Regions from separate parts of the Homo sapiens genome. Here all the other regions are linked to region 1. The links are contacts of gene promoters, found by promoter capture Hi-C in blood cells and fetal thymus (Javierre and others, 2016). All regions are on one chromosome and are shown on one strand. Each heading gives the region's core, a stretch centred on a gene start or on the middle of the fragment in contact. The rest is flanking DNA. Distances are from core to core; before and after follow the strand shown.

Region 1 (4,271 bases), core at 657-3,156:
ATCGCTGCTGAAGCCCAGCCCCCGCAGCTCCATCTGTGCAATTCAGCATATGCCACAGAGACCGGAACACCTGCATTTGGGGGAGTGGGTGTGTGTGGTGTCAAGATATGTCAAAGTTTAAGAAGATTGAAGTTGATAGTCTGCTAATAGAAAACAACTAACCCAGGAAATAAATATGTAAATCATACACTCATAAACTTGATCTTGAAGATCACACGAGCACAGAAGTTCCTAAACTCATTCAAGGCGGAAAAATACAAAAAACGGTAATCTTTATGGAATGCCATGATTCTTGATCAAATTAATCAATCAAATTAAAATAATTTTAATAGCAAAAAATATCTATTCATTATATATGTTGAGGGTGTATCATCCTCAAGCAAGAAACATGCAAGCCAGGCATGGTGCACACCTGTGGTCCCGGCTACTCAGGAGGCTGAGGTGGAAGGATCGCCTGAGCCTGGGAGGTTGAGGCCACAAAGATTGTGCCACTGCACTCCATCCTGGGCAACAGACAAGACCTTGTCTCAAAAAAAAAAAAAAAAAGAAAAGAGGAAAGAAAGGAAGGGGAAGGGGAAGGAGAAGGGGAGGGAGGGGAGGGGAAGGGAGGGGAGGGAAGGGCCAAACTAATTGTTCTTGAGTTTTCCGTTATTATTGGCAGACCTTGGCTTTCCATGGTTCAACTTAGGATGGTGTGAAAATGATGTACATTCAGTAGAAATTGTACTTTAAATTTTGGATTTTGATGTTTTCCTGGGCTAGCAACATGCCCTACAATATATTCTTACATGAGCTACTCCACACTTTATAACATAAACCTTGTGTTAGATGATTTTGCCCAACCATAAACTAAGTGTTCTGAGCACATTTAAGTAGGCCAGGCTAAGCTCTGATGTTCAGTAGGTTGGTTGGATTAAGTGCATTTTTAACTTAAAATATTTTCAATGTCTGATGGGTTTTTTGGGACATAACCCCATCATAAGTTGAGGAGCATGTGTATTGGGTTTGCTTGGAGTTTTTTTCCTTATTTGGTTGTTTTGTTTTCTATCTTATATGAGCAAAGGGGTAAAAGATTTCAGAAAAACACCTGAGAGATAAATCTTAATACCATTCAATCTAGCACATCCGTTAGTAAATTAAGAATGAGGGAAAGCCCACCACTGTCCAAGTGTAAAGGCTGGGCTCCTTGAAACAGCTACAGGGACACTCCAAGTACATCAAAAACACCAATTCAGCCAAAACTTCACATTTATTTTCTGCAAAAGTTACCAAGGCTCACAGATGCCTTTGGGTTTCCCCAAGGTCACCCGGTTAATTATTGACATAGCAACTCCCCTCGCAAAACAAAGAATCAAAATGATTTCCCACGTCCCATGTTGGGATGCATGTTAATGAGGAAGGAAGGCCTCTGCGTGGCGGGGCCTGAGCTAAGTATGTCTAGTCAGAGTCCAAATCCGGGACAGATTTGAAAAGCTTTCTAATCCACCTATACGCAGAAGAATAAAGCTTGGAACTCATTTCAAAAGTTGTTTCTACTGGTGATTTAAAGACACACTCCTCTCTCCCATATGCACATAAGCACAGACCTGCAAGAGCACTGTCCCCTCCAGAGCCAGACACTACAGGCCCCCAGCAAGTGTGAAATCCAGGTGTGACTTTCTAGGCATGGCTTGGTGAGGAAGGGCCTGGCCCACTCCTTGGCTCCCTCCTCCCAGCCAGAAACGGTTAATTGCCAGCTCCAGACTGCCTCCAGCCCAGCCCTAATCGCCGATCTCAGGCGGCTGGGCTGCGCTGGGGCTGAGCGGCTCCAGCCCAGGCTGGGGTTGTGTGAGCAGCAGGAGCATTCTTCCAAGGTAATGATTAAGCTGAGTGCCTGGCAAGGGCACGGGCTGAGAGCACAGAAGGTGAGCCCTATTCACACCTCGGCCAGGCTGCGGTGGCCAGGACTGGTTTGGGAAGGCAGGGCCCCGGTGTGCAGCCACAGCCAGCAGCCTCCTACCTACACAAGGGTGTTCGGGAGCATCTCAGGGCCGAAGACTTTGCTGCCTGCCCTGCCAGGACTTTGTCCTCACCCCTGGCACCATGCAGCTCCAGGTGTTCTGGACTGGGCTGGAATACACCTGCCGGCTCCTGGGCATCACCACTGCTGCAGGTAAGACCCTGCCTCCTGGCTGCTGATCCTTGCACACTGGCACCACAGATAGGGCTGCCTGAGGGGTGGGAGGTGGCCAGGAGACAGCAGGCACATCTGGCCACTTCTGTGCTTCAATTTTTTTCCCAAGACCCCTAGAAACACTGCTCTGTAGAGCAGCAGCAAGTGCAGTGGGGTGAGCCTAGGGCTGGGGACCAGAGGGCTGGGTGCTGGATCTTTGCTTGGCAAGTCACCCTCCCTGTGACCTTGGGAAGCCTCAAGATCCTCATCTGCAAAATGATTCCAGGGGCCACCCCACCTACGCAGAGAGTTGTCATGAGATGGAGGTGGAGACAGAAGGTGAAGATAGAAAGGGCTGGGCTTCGCTGTGTATCTACAAAAGGTCAACTGAGCTCATCCTGCTTTACTCAAACCATAGCCCTACCTCATGGAGAGAGAACTCCCAGTCATGAGCAGCTCTGCCCTGGAGGGACAGGCTGAGCCTGGCTGGACGTGGAGATCACAGGCTTCCCTCGGGCCCATGCTGGACCCTGTTAACAGAACACCCTGTAGGAACCCAGACCCCTGTCTGAGGTCTGACTGCAGGAATGCACTGTGGTCTTAGCAGCAGAGATGCTTCCCAGAGATGCTGGGCTCCTTCCTTCACCCAGCAGAATCACAGGGCTGCTCAACTGGACAGGAGGGCAGACTGTTAGAGCAGAGCCCAGAGCCACCATCCTGAGCCCTGCCTGCTCGCTTCCCCAGGGCAGGCCTGACCCTTAGCCCCATTCCCCCTACAGAGCCAGGATCTGTTTTGGGGAAATGAACAGGCAGAATTCTGAGCCCTTAACTCTGAGCCACATTGTCCCTTGGGGACAAAGAGAGACACACCCCCTATCAAAGCCCTTCCCCACCACTGGGCAAAAGCTTACCCACGGGTCTTACCAAATGGGAAAGTTCTCCTAGGTCAAAATCACATAGTGCTTGTTCCTGCCCCAGCCTAGTCACTTGCGTGATATATGACCTTGGGGAGCCCCTGACCCCTCTGAGGCTGCACTTTCTGATCTGTATGATGGGGACCTGCTGGCCAGGTGTTTGGACAGATTAAGGATGCAGGAACTGAGCATGGCTAAGTGGAACTGAGGATGAAAACCTCTCAGCAGAAGCCCCCATGACACACTCCAGAGCTCAATGGGAAGCTGGGTCATTTCAGGAGCACTGGGCTGGGTTCAGCCGTGAGCTGGCCAGTGGGCTCTTCCAGCATCTAGGCCATGAGTTAGATCATGAAGGGCTGCTGGATGGTTTAACCCCACCCCTCCTGCTACAGGATGGGGCACCTGAGCTCAAATGCAGGTGGTGACCTTGCCCAAGGTCATGGTCAGAGGGACAGCCAGCCCGGAGCCCTGGTCCTTCAACTTTCACAAAGGCCAGGGCTCTGGCCAAAACCTTCCCTGTCTTCCAGAGTAGGCAGCAGGAAGAGGTTCAGAATTGCTCTGCTGAGGCTCTGAGTGGAGGCACTGAGGGAGGAGCCAGATCCAGCCACTTTCAGAACCACGTTGTCGTCTACACATAAGAGAATGATGGCCAAGACCCCCAACAAGCAAAAAAGCCATCCTGGGGAGAGGAAGGCCACCCTAAATAGGTTTCCATGTCTGTTGATCTGAGTCCACCCTGCTCCCTCTAGGCTTTGGTTTCCAAATCTGTAAAATGCCAAGAATCCCACAGTTCCCCCAGCCACACTCCACCCAGAGCTGAGGCCCACCTCCCGTCGAGAGGCTGTTCTAAGATGTATGTACCTATCCTTCTAATGGATTAGCTAGAGACAGTTTAACAGTCTGATTTATCTCAGTCACCGGAAGAGTCTGCAGCCCCTGACACTCCCATGTGCACGCACACACACACACACACACACACACAAACCCGTGCGCGCGCACATAGGGCTCGTCTTAACCACAGCCTTTATCTCCGCACAGGGACTGCTGTTAATGCTGAGAATGGGCCTCCCTCTTGGTTTTGATAGGAGATTCAGACTAAAAATAGCCATGAGCTCCCTTCTAATGGCCAGGCTTTCAAATGATCTTGCTCGGGCTTTCTAGAGTGCTGGGAGGGAGTGGGAGGCTAGAGAGAGGGGTTTGGTGTT
Region 2 (4,731 bases), core at 2,177-4,676, 1.1 Mb before region 1:
AAACTGTCCCACATTAGCCAGTGTGGCAAGGTAGGGGGAGGGCCTCTGATGCTTTGGGAGAGCAACTTTGTGCAATGGCAAGTGTGTGGTATTACCTGTAAAGGCAAAAGACGGAACGTACCTAAATGCCAATCTAGAGGGACTTGGGAAAATGCATGATCATTCTTCTCTAAAATAAAATACAACGCAGTTTTGAAAAAGAATGAGTGAGTCTGAATGTGCTGAAATGTATTGTTATAGCAAAGAAACTTGGATTCAGAAGAGTAGGCACTGACTGCTCTAATTTGATATGAAAAGGATACGAACGCAATGAACACAAGTGAATACATGGGCTTACATATGTGTAAGATGTCTGGAGGCCCAAAAAAACTATTCATGATGGTTACCTCTCGCAAGGAATCTGGGGGTCTGGTTGTGAGGGAGATTTGCTATCATTTTTAAATATTTAGATTTTTTTAACACGCGCTTGCCCTACTTTAAATGAAAGAGGATTGGATGACACCTTGAGAATGCATCTGATGTACGAAACATTCATGTTTGTTAAACAAATATAATAGGACATGTCTCTTGGAAATCAATTATGATTTGCAAAGTTGGCCCCCTAAGTTCCTAAGTTTTGTAAAAATTTGAATTCAATTCCATTATACTTTCAAATTTGGGGAGCAGGTGGTTAGCAATCCAGATGTGAGAGGAACTGCATGCCAGCAGTCACTTTCAGTTTTAAGGAGAGAGGCTGACTAACCTCGGTGAGAGGGCCCTTAACAGAGAATGGCGGATGTGGCTGGGGAGAGAAAGCCGCAGACACTGCTTACAGCTTTTCCTGTCACACAGGGACTCTTGCTCAGCCTCTGCTCCTTTTCCTTCGGCCTCTTAGGGATGCACATTTTTAAATGATTCTCTGCTACTCTTCTGCACTGAGAATGACTTTTGTTTCTAACGTTTTTGGTATAAGATTTTCAATTATTTCCTCCGCCCTTTGTCTGACCCAGGTTGGAGTCTATGTCTTCTTCCTAGATCTTCCCACAGTTTTGGCTGTGAGGCCATTGTGGGAGTCCCACAGAAACAGGTTGCAGCCTAGTCACTGAGCAATTGCTCATATATCCTTTGTGAGTTCCGAGAATGCCGAGAGCTTTCCAGAGTAGTCTGGAGATAACATCCTGGACCTGTCCACACTTACTTTTGAAACAAAGCAGATGTGCCATAATTAGTGGTTGGTTCCATATTTTTTGGAAGACGTAATATTTTTTCCTGAAAGAATGCACAGAACAGATGCATTCCACTGCAGCAGGCTGAGTGTTGTAACAGGAACATGCACAGGAGTTTATGGGAATGGAGGTGAAGGAGACTGGGAAGGGTGCAAAGGAGGAGGATGAATTGTCCAAGTGGAAAGTGGTCCCAGAACAGAATTAGAGAAGGCGGAGGTATGACAGAGTGGAAAACAGCCTCTAATGGAATAGGCCAACTAGGTTAAAAACACACATGTAAGAAGCTCCCAGGGGCCTCTGCACTAACAAGGGATCTTGAGGATATGAGAGTGATGGGGATGTTTTCCACTCCTTCCCTTCTGCTAAGTCATTCCCTTTGGGCACAGAGAGACCTGGCTCTAAGGTAGAGTTCCTACACTCACCAGGTGTGTGTCAATATGGAAATCTCTCCTTTTCTAGAGACCCCACTTCCTCATCAGCAAAATGTAAATATTTAGCACCAGTTTCACAAAATCTTGTGCCTGGCACGTAGTAGTTGCTCAATAAATATAAGCTTCCATTTTCTCTCATGAATTCCTTTAGTGTAAGTACTACTTGTTCATCCACTTGGCATTCAAAGTCTTCCGTGTTTTGAATCACTCATCACACAAACGTGACCTTCTAATGTCTCTGAATGCTAGACTTTGACTTTAATAATAGAAATGACTAATAATATCTTAGCAAGACACTTCTAACTCGGAGTTAGATCCTTCTATCATATGCACCCTGTGATGCAGCTGGCCTAGGACCACTATGGTCCCCAAGAGACAGATGCAGAAATGGAGGCCAAGGCCCAAGTGCCTTGAAAGGCCACTAAGTTAGTGACCAGCTAGCCAGGACTCAACCCACTGACTCTCTTGCCTGAGGTGGCTACAGTCCTTGTCCGGCAGGTCATTAAACATCAAAATCACAGGGTTCTTCCTTTCCAAACGTTCTTACTTTTTTGCCTGTGGAAACCTATTCATTTTCAGGGTCCATCTTTTTTTGTGTGTGTGTAAGACAGGGTCTTGCGCTCTTACCCAGGCTGGAGTTCAGTGGTGTGATCTCAGCTCACTGCAACCTCGACCTCCTGGGCTCAAGTGATCCTCCCACTTCAGCCTCCTGAGTAGCTGGGAATACAGGCACACACCACCATGCCTGGCTAATTTTTTTTTCATTTTTGTAGAGATAGGGTTTCTTCATGGTGGGCCCAGGCTGGTCTTGAACTCCTGGGCTCAAGCAATCCTCCTTCTTCAGCCTCCCAAAGTGCTGGGATTACAGGCATGAGCCACCCTATGCCCAGCCTAGGGTCCATATTAAGACTTTTATATTTCAGAATTCTTCCAACACCAGTGTGATGGGTGTGTGTGTGTGTGCGTGTGTGTGTGTGTGTGTATGTGTGTAGAGAGAGAACATGTGTGATCTGAATGTTCTGGCATTTGTGTAGACACCCTTTGGGGATTCTGGCTATGCCTATATAACAATTTCTCCTTCGTGGGAAGAAAGCAAGGGTAGCAGGCTGTGACCGTGCTTTTTGTTTTTCAGCAAGGAAGAGCCAAGCACCGCATGACTCTTGTAGAAGATGGACTTTGCAGACTGCAAAAGGGGAAAGGAAAGGGGCGTGTGATGTTTGTAGGTGCCTTGGTAGAAAGTCCCTCTTTGCCTAGAAATTATTTAGGCATCCTTTTATAATGCTTCTGGAAGAACAGAAAGAAAAATCTATTTCCTGAATGAGATAAGGATGCTTTTCATTGAGTGTCAGTATTGAACCAGCCCCAACTGAAATGAGAATTGTACTTGGATGTCACTGTGGACCCACCCCCTCAGTCCTAGTAAAACCAACACAAGGGGTTGGGATTCTCCCCGTGCCCTACTTGAAATGATTGCTGGTTCTTGGGTTGAGCTGGCGTTTGGTGGCCGGCACCCATCTGCTATTGCCCCTAGAGGAGGTGAGTATGGTTCTGGGTCCCTGGCTGCTTGGGGCAAGGACACTGAGGTTGAGATCCAGATGTTCCTTGTCAACAATGCTGTAGGAATTAAAGAGTCTTTACAGCCCCTTAGTCCCGACATTTCCATCTCCTTGAGCTGAAAATAATCAAATTGAGGCTGACAGGGGAGTCTCCCCAGGTTGCGGAGTTCCTGTGGGCGAGCCTCCTCCATCTGGGGGACACCTGCACACCTGCAAAGTGCTCTGACCTGGGGACGGTGACGGTGTTGTGGTGAGAGGGATCCAGACCTGCCCTTCAAGAGCCTGCCTTCTGTCTGGGGGTCAGGTAGATGGCTTGCTGGGGAGGGCCACCGTCCTGGAGGCGGATAGGGTGGAGGGTCAGGAGAGGCCTCACAGGGAAGACTTATGCTACAGAGGGGTTATTTTCCTCAGGACTTAATAGGACTAAAACTCCTAAGCTAAGTTTTAAAGTAAGGCTGGGTGCAGTGGCTCACGCCTGTAATCCCAGAACTTTGGGAGGCCGAGGTGGGAGGATCGCTTGAGCCCAGGAGTTCGAGACCAGCCTGGGCAACACGGCGAGATCCTGAAAGTTAGGAAAGTTAGGCTGAGAGGGTCGAAGCCCAGCCTGCCTGGTGCTCAGGACACCCCTGAGCCCTGAATGGGGCTGTCTGGGGCCAGGGGGAGGGTCTGGAGTGAGCGGCAGTAGATGAGCTGCGGCCAAGGTGAGCCCAGACCTTCGTGGGTGCCTCTCTCTGGACCTGGCCCCCCTATGGCAGTGATTTCCGGTGCCTAGAGGGGCAGGGCTGGAAGCACAGAGAGGTGCGGTGGGGGACCGCACCCCTTGTCGGCGTCAGGTGTGGGGTGCAGGAGGCCTTTGCAAAAGGCCCCTCGCAATGCACTGACAATTTCACAGCGTTTATGATTTATAGCCGGGCAAAGTGAGTGGGAGTGGTCACCAAAGAGTAGATTAATGATTCCATTATCACACATCTTAGGTTTTTAGCTTTCTGGAAACGAATGTTCTTTGCTTTAAAACATGATGGCTGGCCTTCTCTGTGAACGGCGGGCCTCCGAGCGTTTCCTGTGGAGCTGGTTTCTGGTGCTGGTGCGCCTGTGAGATGGGCGGAGGGGCTCTGCGGCTGATCTGGAGCTTCCAGAAGCAGCCCTGTGTGTTTTTCCATTGGATGTGACATTCCATAACTAAGGGATTAGTGGACCCTTTGTTGTTCTCAGTCTTCCTAAAATGATGAGAGGAATTCCTCCCAGACTCTCTAGAAGATGCTTTAGAATAAGCTAGAGAGATTTTAAAAAATAATCTTGATGAGGCTTTACAAAAAGAAAGATCGATGGTCAGGGCTTACGTACCATGTAAATTGACACTTGAGACAAGTTAGCTGACAGCCATACTTATTCAAAGATGAATAAAGAGAAAAAGAAAATACACTGTGTGTCCTGGGAAGAGCTTCTGGGGCTTAATGGAAATTAGGAATTACCCTGATAACTAGAGGAAGGTTCACTGATAAGATTAGAAAAGAAAATTTCAGAGGAAAAAAGAATAAC
Region 3 (4,342 bases), core at 553-3,052, 1.2 Mb before region 1:
AGTTTAGAGGGAGTTAGCAGAATATTGTAAACTTGTATATTTTGCAAGGTGCTCCAAAAAGGCTGAGATGTTGTTGATCTTTTGATTAATTTCAAGCTCCAAAATGTACCTGCGGTGTCTCTAGCATCCTTTACAATGCCTGAGTGAGAGGGCTTAAGTCACAAGCTCTATCCACTAGACAAGTGTATGCAATATTCTTGTTTGTAGCACCAGGATTTTGAGTAAAATAGCCTTCTTCTTGGATGTCCTCACATTTGTTACCAGAATGCAAGACGAGAAGCTAAGAAGGAACTGGGTTGGACCCAGCAGAACTGAAATGATTTGCAGCCTCTACTCCTCTGATGACACTTTAATGTGACCTTGCATTCTTTGGCTTTCAGGCTTTTTCTCCTCCAACCCCAACTCTTGGGAAATTAACCTCTCTGAAGGCAAAGATACACATCTCATAAAGTTCTTTGGCACCCCAGCCATGTGGCTATAGATGAGGAGACTTTCAGTACCATGAGATCCAATGTCAATAATTTCATCCACTCATTCTTGCTGCACCTGCTTTGCTAAGCAATGTCCTGGGTGGTTTGAAGCCCAGAAAACTGAATCACACATGGAGTGAGACTCTGAGGAGCTAAAAGAAGTTGGTTTTATACATCATAAACCCAAGTGAAGAACCAAAGAAATGAACAATGTAGAAGGAGGCAATTGACAAAGATGAAAGTTAGAATTAATGACATTAAAATAGTAGCAGTAATAAATAAAACCAAAAACAGTTTTTACGGAAGACAAATTAAATATACAAAAGCTGATTCTTTCAAAAGACCAATTAAATTTACAAATACCCAACAAGCTTGATTAAGGAAAAGGAGAGAAAGCAAAACTAACTACAGATATAACAGAGATATTAAAAATTATAAGTAGTATAACATGTAACTCAATGACATCAAATATGAACAGAAATTATATAAGAAATAGATGATTTTCTAGGAAAAATGTAAACCACTGCTATGGTCTGAATGTTTGTGTCCCCTCCCAAATTCATACATTGAAGTCCTAACCCCAAGGTGATGGTATTTGAAGGTGAGCTCTTTAGGGGATGACTAGGTCATGGGAGTGGAGCTCTCATGAATGGGGTTAGTGCCCTTACAGAAGAGGCCCAAGAGAGACGCCTTACCCCATTCATCATGTGAGGACACAGCAAAAAAGTGCTGTCTACAAACCAGAAGGCAGGCTTTCACCAGACACCAAATCTGCTGCTTCCTTGATCTTGGACTTCCCAGCCTCCAGAGCTGTGAGAAACAAATTCCTGTTGTTTATAAGCTACCCACTTAATGAGATTTTGACAAAGCAGTCTGAATAGACTAAGATAATCACCAAAATTAACCTAAGAAGGAGGAGAATACTAAACAGATCTGTCACAAGTGACAGAAGAGGTGAGAAAAGTACTTAGATAGCTTTAATTAAAAACAATTCGGGCCAGGTGCGGTGGCTCACACCTGTGATCCCAGCACTTTGGGAGGCTGAGGCAGGCAGATCACGAGGTCAGGAGATCAAGACCATCCTGGCTAACATGGTGAAACCCTGTCTCTATTAAAAATACAAAAAAATTTAGCTGGGCGTGGTGGTGGGTGCCTGTAGTCCGAGCTACTCGGGAGGCTGAGGCAGGAGAATGGCATGAATCCGGGAGGCAGAGCCTGCAGTGAGCCAAGATCACTCCACTGCACTCCATCCTGGGCAACTGAGCAAGACTCTGTCTCAAAAAAAGAACCAAATTCAAATAGATTTTGAGAGGAGCTAATTATAGTATGTCATTTCTGTTTTAAGCTGTTTTAGATCATAGAAAAAGTTACAAAGTTCCACAATTTGTTTTATAAGGCTACTGCAACCATAATTCCAAACCTATAACAAGACCATTTTCACTTACAACTATAGATAAAAATTCTAAATAATTAACTATACTTATCTAGCAGCATATTTATAGACTGATACAAAGTAATCTGATAGAATATTAAAAATGGAATAATTACCACCTGGAGAGGAGGAAGAAGATACTGAAAAAGTACTCCAAGAAATAATGGTTGAAAACTTCCAAAATTTGGTGAAGTCCAGAAACCTACAAAACTCCAGAAGTTGAGTGAACCCCAAACAGGATAAACCCAAAGAGATCCACACCAAGGCACACCCCAGTCAAACTTCTGAAAACTAAAGACAGAAAAGTCTTGAAAGCAACAAGAGAGAAAAACACCTCCTTACCCACAGGGAAAAACAGTTCAAATGACAATAGATTAATCAAGATCAAACCTCCAACACTAGAAAGAAGTGGCATAACAAGTGCTGAAAAAGAGAACTGTCAACCCAGAATCTTATATTCAGTGAAAATATCCTTCACGAATGAAGGGAAAATCAAAACATTAAAGATGAAGGAAAGCTAAGATAATTTGTTGCCAGCAGACCTACCCTAAAAGATTGGCTATAGGAAGTTCTCTAAACAGGAAATGATAAGAAAAATCTGAGAACATCAGGAAGAAAGCAAGAACAGGATGAACAAAAATATGGTTAAGCCCAATAGTCTTTTCTTCTCCTAAGTTTTCTAGTTTGTTTGACAACTAAAACAAAAATTATAACTCTAATATAGTTCTACCAGCATGTGAAGAGGATGTCAGTGGGGATGGTGGAGCAAGGATCTCAAACCCCTCTCCTCCTCTTTATAAAACTAGCAATAATACTGCTAAGAATTGTGAAAATTAACTTTTTCAGAACTCTGGAAACTAACAAAGCTTGTCACAATCTGGAAAGCACTTACTCAAGAAAAACACTAAGTTGTGGTAAGAATAGCAAGCTTTGTAACATTTTAACGAGCCCTATTTCTGTCTTCCCTGTACAGCTTGGCAGTAGCCTTGGAAGCCAACAGCCCACAGCAGAGGTAAAAGACAGCAGCCCAGCAGCCAGTGGAGGGGCCAGAATGGGGCTGCAGCTTCTCCAAAGACCCATTCCCAGAGAACTGCCATTGTTTGACCTGCTAGTCATTCCCCACTCATAAGAGTTGTCTTTATTTGGTCTGACTCAGAGCTTGCCCAGTGCAAATAACCTTTTCCTCAGTGACATTTGTCAAAAACAATCAGTGGTGATGGTTTAGCATCACTGCTGCCTGAGGTGATGATAATAGTTGGGGCAAATGACAAGCTGACCATAAAAACCCAAAGGGAAAAGCTAGAGACTGAGATGTCCAAAGGAGGCTTTGAAAAACTCTGACACATCCTAGGAACCTGGAAGGCCACTTGCATGAACAGGGTTGTGCAAATGCCCAGGGCCGTGCATGTGTTCAGGAAAGAGCTGAGAAGCTCTAAGTTCTCACTTCTGGCTGATATTGAGGTCCTGAAGAGCAAAAAGGAGAGCCTAAGGCAGAGCTGTCAACTACTTGGCTGAGTGTAGAAGGCATTTCCCAAAACGTACTCACAATCCCTTGGCAACGACTGGGAGACTTACTGGCTTCAGACAGTTAAGAAAATCTATGCACAATTGTGAGCTGCCCACTGAGCTAACTGAGCAGTGACTTCTGCGGTCATTTATGACAAAAAGGCAGAGTCTACAATATTAATTCAGGAAAGTCACTAAAACAAACAAACAGCAGCAGCAAGAACAACAATAAGTGGCAACAAAAAGAAATCCCAGGGAGTGGAGAGAACCTGAATTTCAGAGCAGCCACATTACATCATTTGAAATGTCCAGTTTCAACATTCAAAGAAACAAGAAAATATGGTCCGTGTACAGGGGTACAAAGCAGTCAACAGAAACTGTCCTTGAGGAAGTCTATACATTGTCCTTACTAAATAATACCGAAGCTATTTTAAATATAAAGAACTAAGGAAACCATATCTAAAGAACTAAAGGAAAGTATGAGAATAATGTTTCATCAAATAGAGAATATCAACAAGAGATAGAATTATACAAAAAAACAATAGAAATTCTAGCGATGAAAATAATAACTCAATTGAAAAAAGTTCACTAGAGAGGCTGAATGGGATATTTGGGCTGGTAAAAGAATCAGTGAAGTTAAAGGTAGGTCAATTGAAAATATACAGTCTAAGGAATAGAAAGAAAAAAGAATAAAGAAAAAGAAACAGAGCCTAAGAGATCTGTGGGACACGATCAAGCATACACAATATGTATAATGAGAGTCCCGGAAGGAGATGAGGGAAAGGGGTGGTAAAAATACATGAAGAAATAAGGGCTAAACCCCCACAAATTTGATGAAAAACTTTCATCTCTACATGCAAGAAGCTCAGTGATCTCCAAGTACAATAAACGCAGAGATTCACACCTCCGCACCTCATAAACAAACTGGCAAAAA

The links. The method cuts DNA at HindIII sites, captures the fragments that hold promoters and counts their contacts. A CHiCAGO score of 5 or more calls a contact.
Region 2: a contact is called between a fragment that was not itself captured here and the fragment with the promoter of TMEM72 in region 1, in 2 of 17 cell types (fetal thymus and total CD4 T cells). The highest score is 7.0, in fetal thymus.
Region 3: a contact is called between a fragment that was not itself captured here and the fragment with the promoter of TMEM72 in region 1, in 9 of 17 cell types (naive B cells, naive CD8 T cells, total B cells and 6 more). The highest score is 13.3, in naive B cells.

What each region holds. Positions count from the first base shown.
Region 1 is chr10:44,909,431-44,913,701 of GRCh38, forward strand. It overlaps TMEM72 (transmembrane protein 72), which reads left to right and starts at 1,907. Exons shown (of 5, transcript NM_001123376.3): 1 at 1,907-2,152. The coding sequence starts at 2,083. The region is part of intron 2 of TMEM72-AS1 (TMEM72 antisense RNA 1); the gene reads right to left. RefSeq lists an enhancer at 1-9. The HindIII fragment of the contact is 1,552 bases long and covers 1,505-3,056 here.
Region 2 is chr10:43,815,739-43,820,469 of GRCh38, forward strand. LOC105378275 (a long non-coding RNA gene) reads left to right here. Exons shown (of 3, transcript XR_945906.4): 3 at 2,769-3,006. Among named protein-coding and RNA genes, the nearest start is that of LINC00619, 27 kb to the right of the region's middle. RefSeq lists a silencer at 829-1,029. The HindIII fragment of the contact is 3,340 bases long and covers 1,757-4,731 here.
Region 3 is chr10:43,723,576-43,727,917 of GRCh38, forward strand. No RefSeq gene overlaps it. Among named protein-coding and RNA genes, the nearest start is that of LINC02658, 53 kb to the right of the region's middle. The HindIII fragment of the contact is 1,927 bases long and covers 840-2,766 here.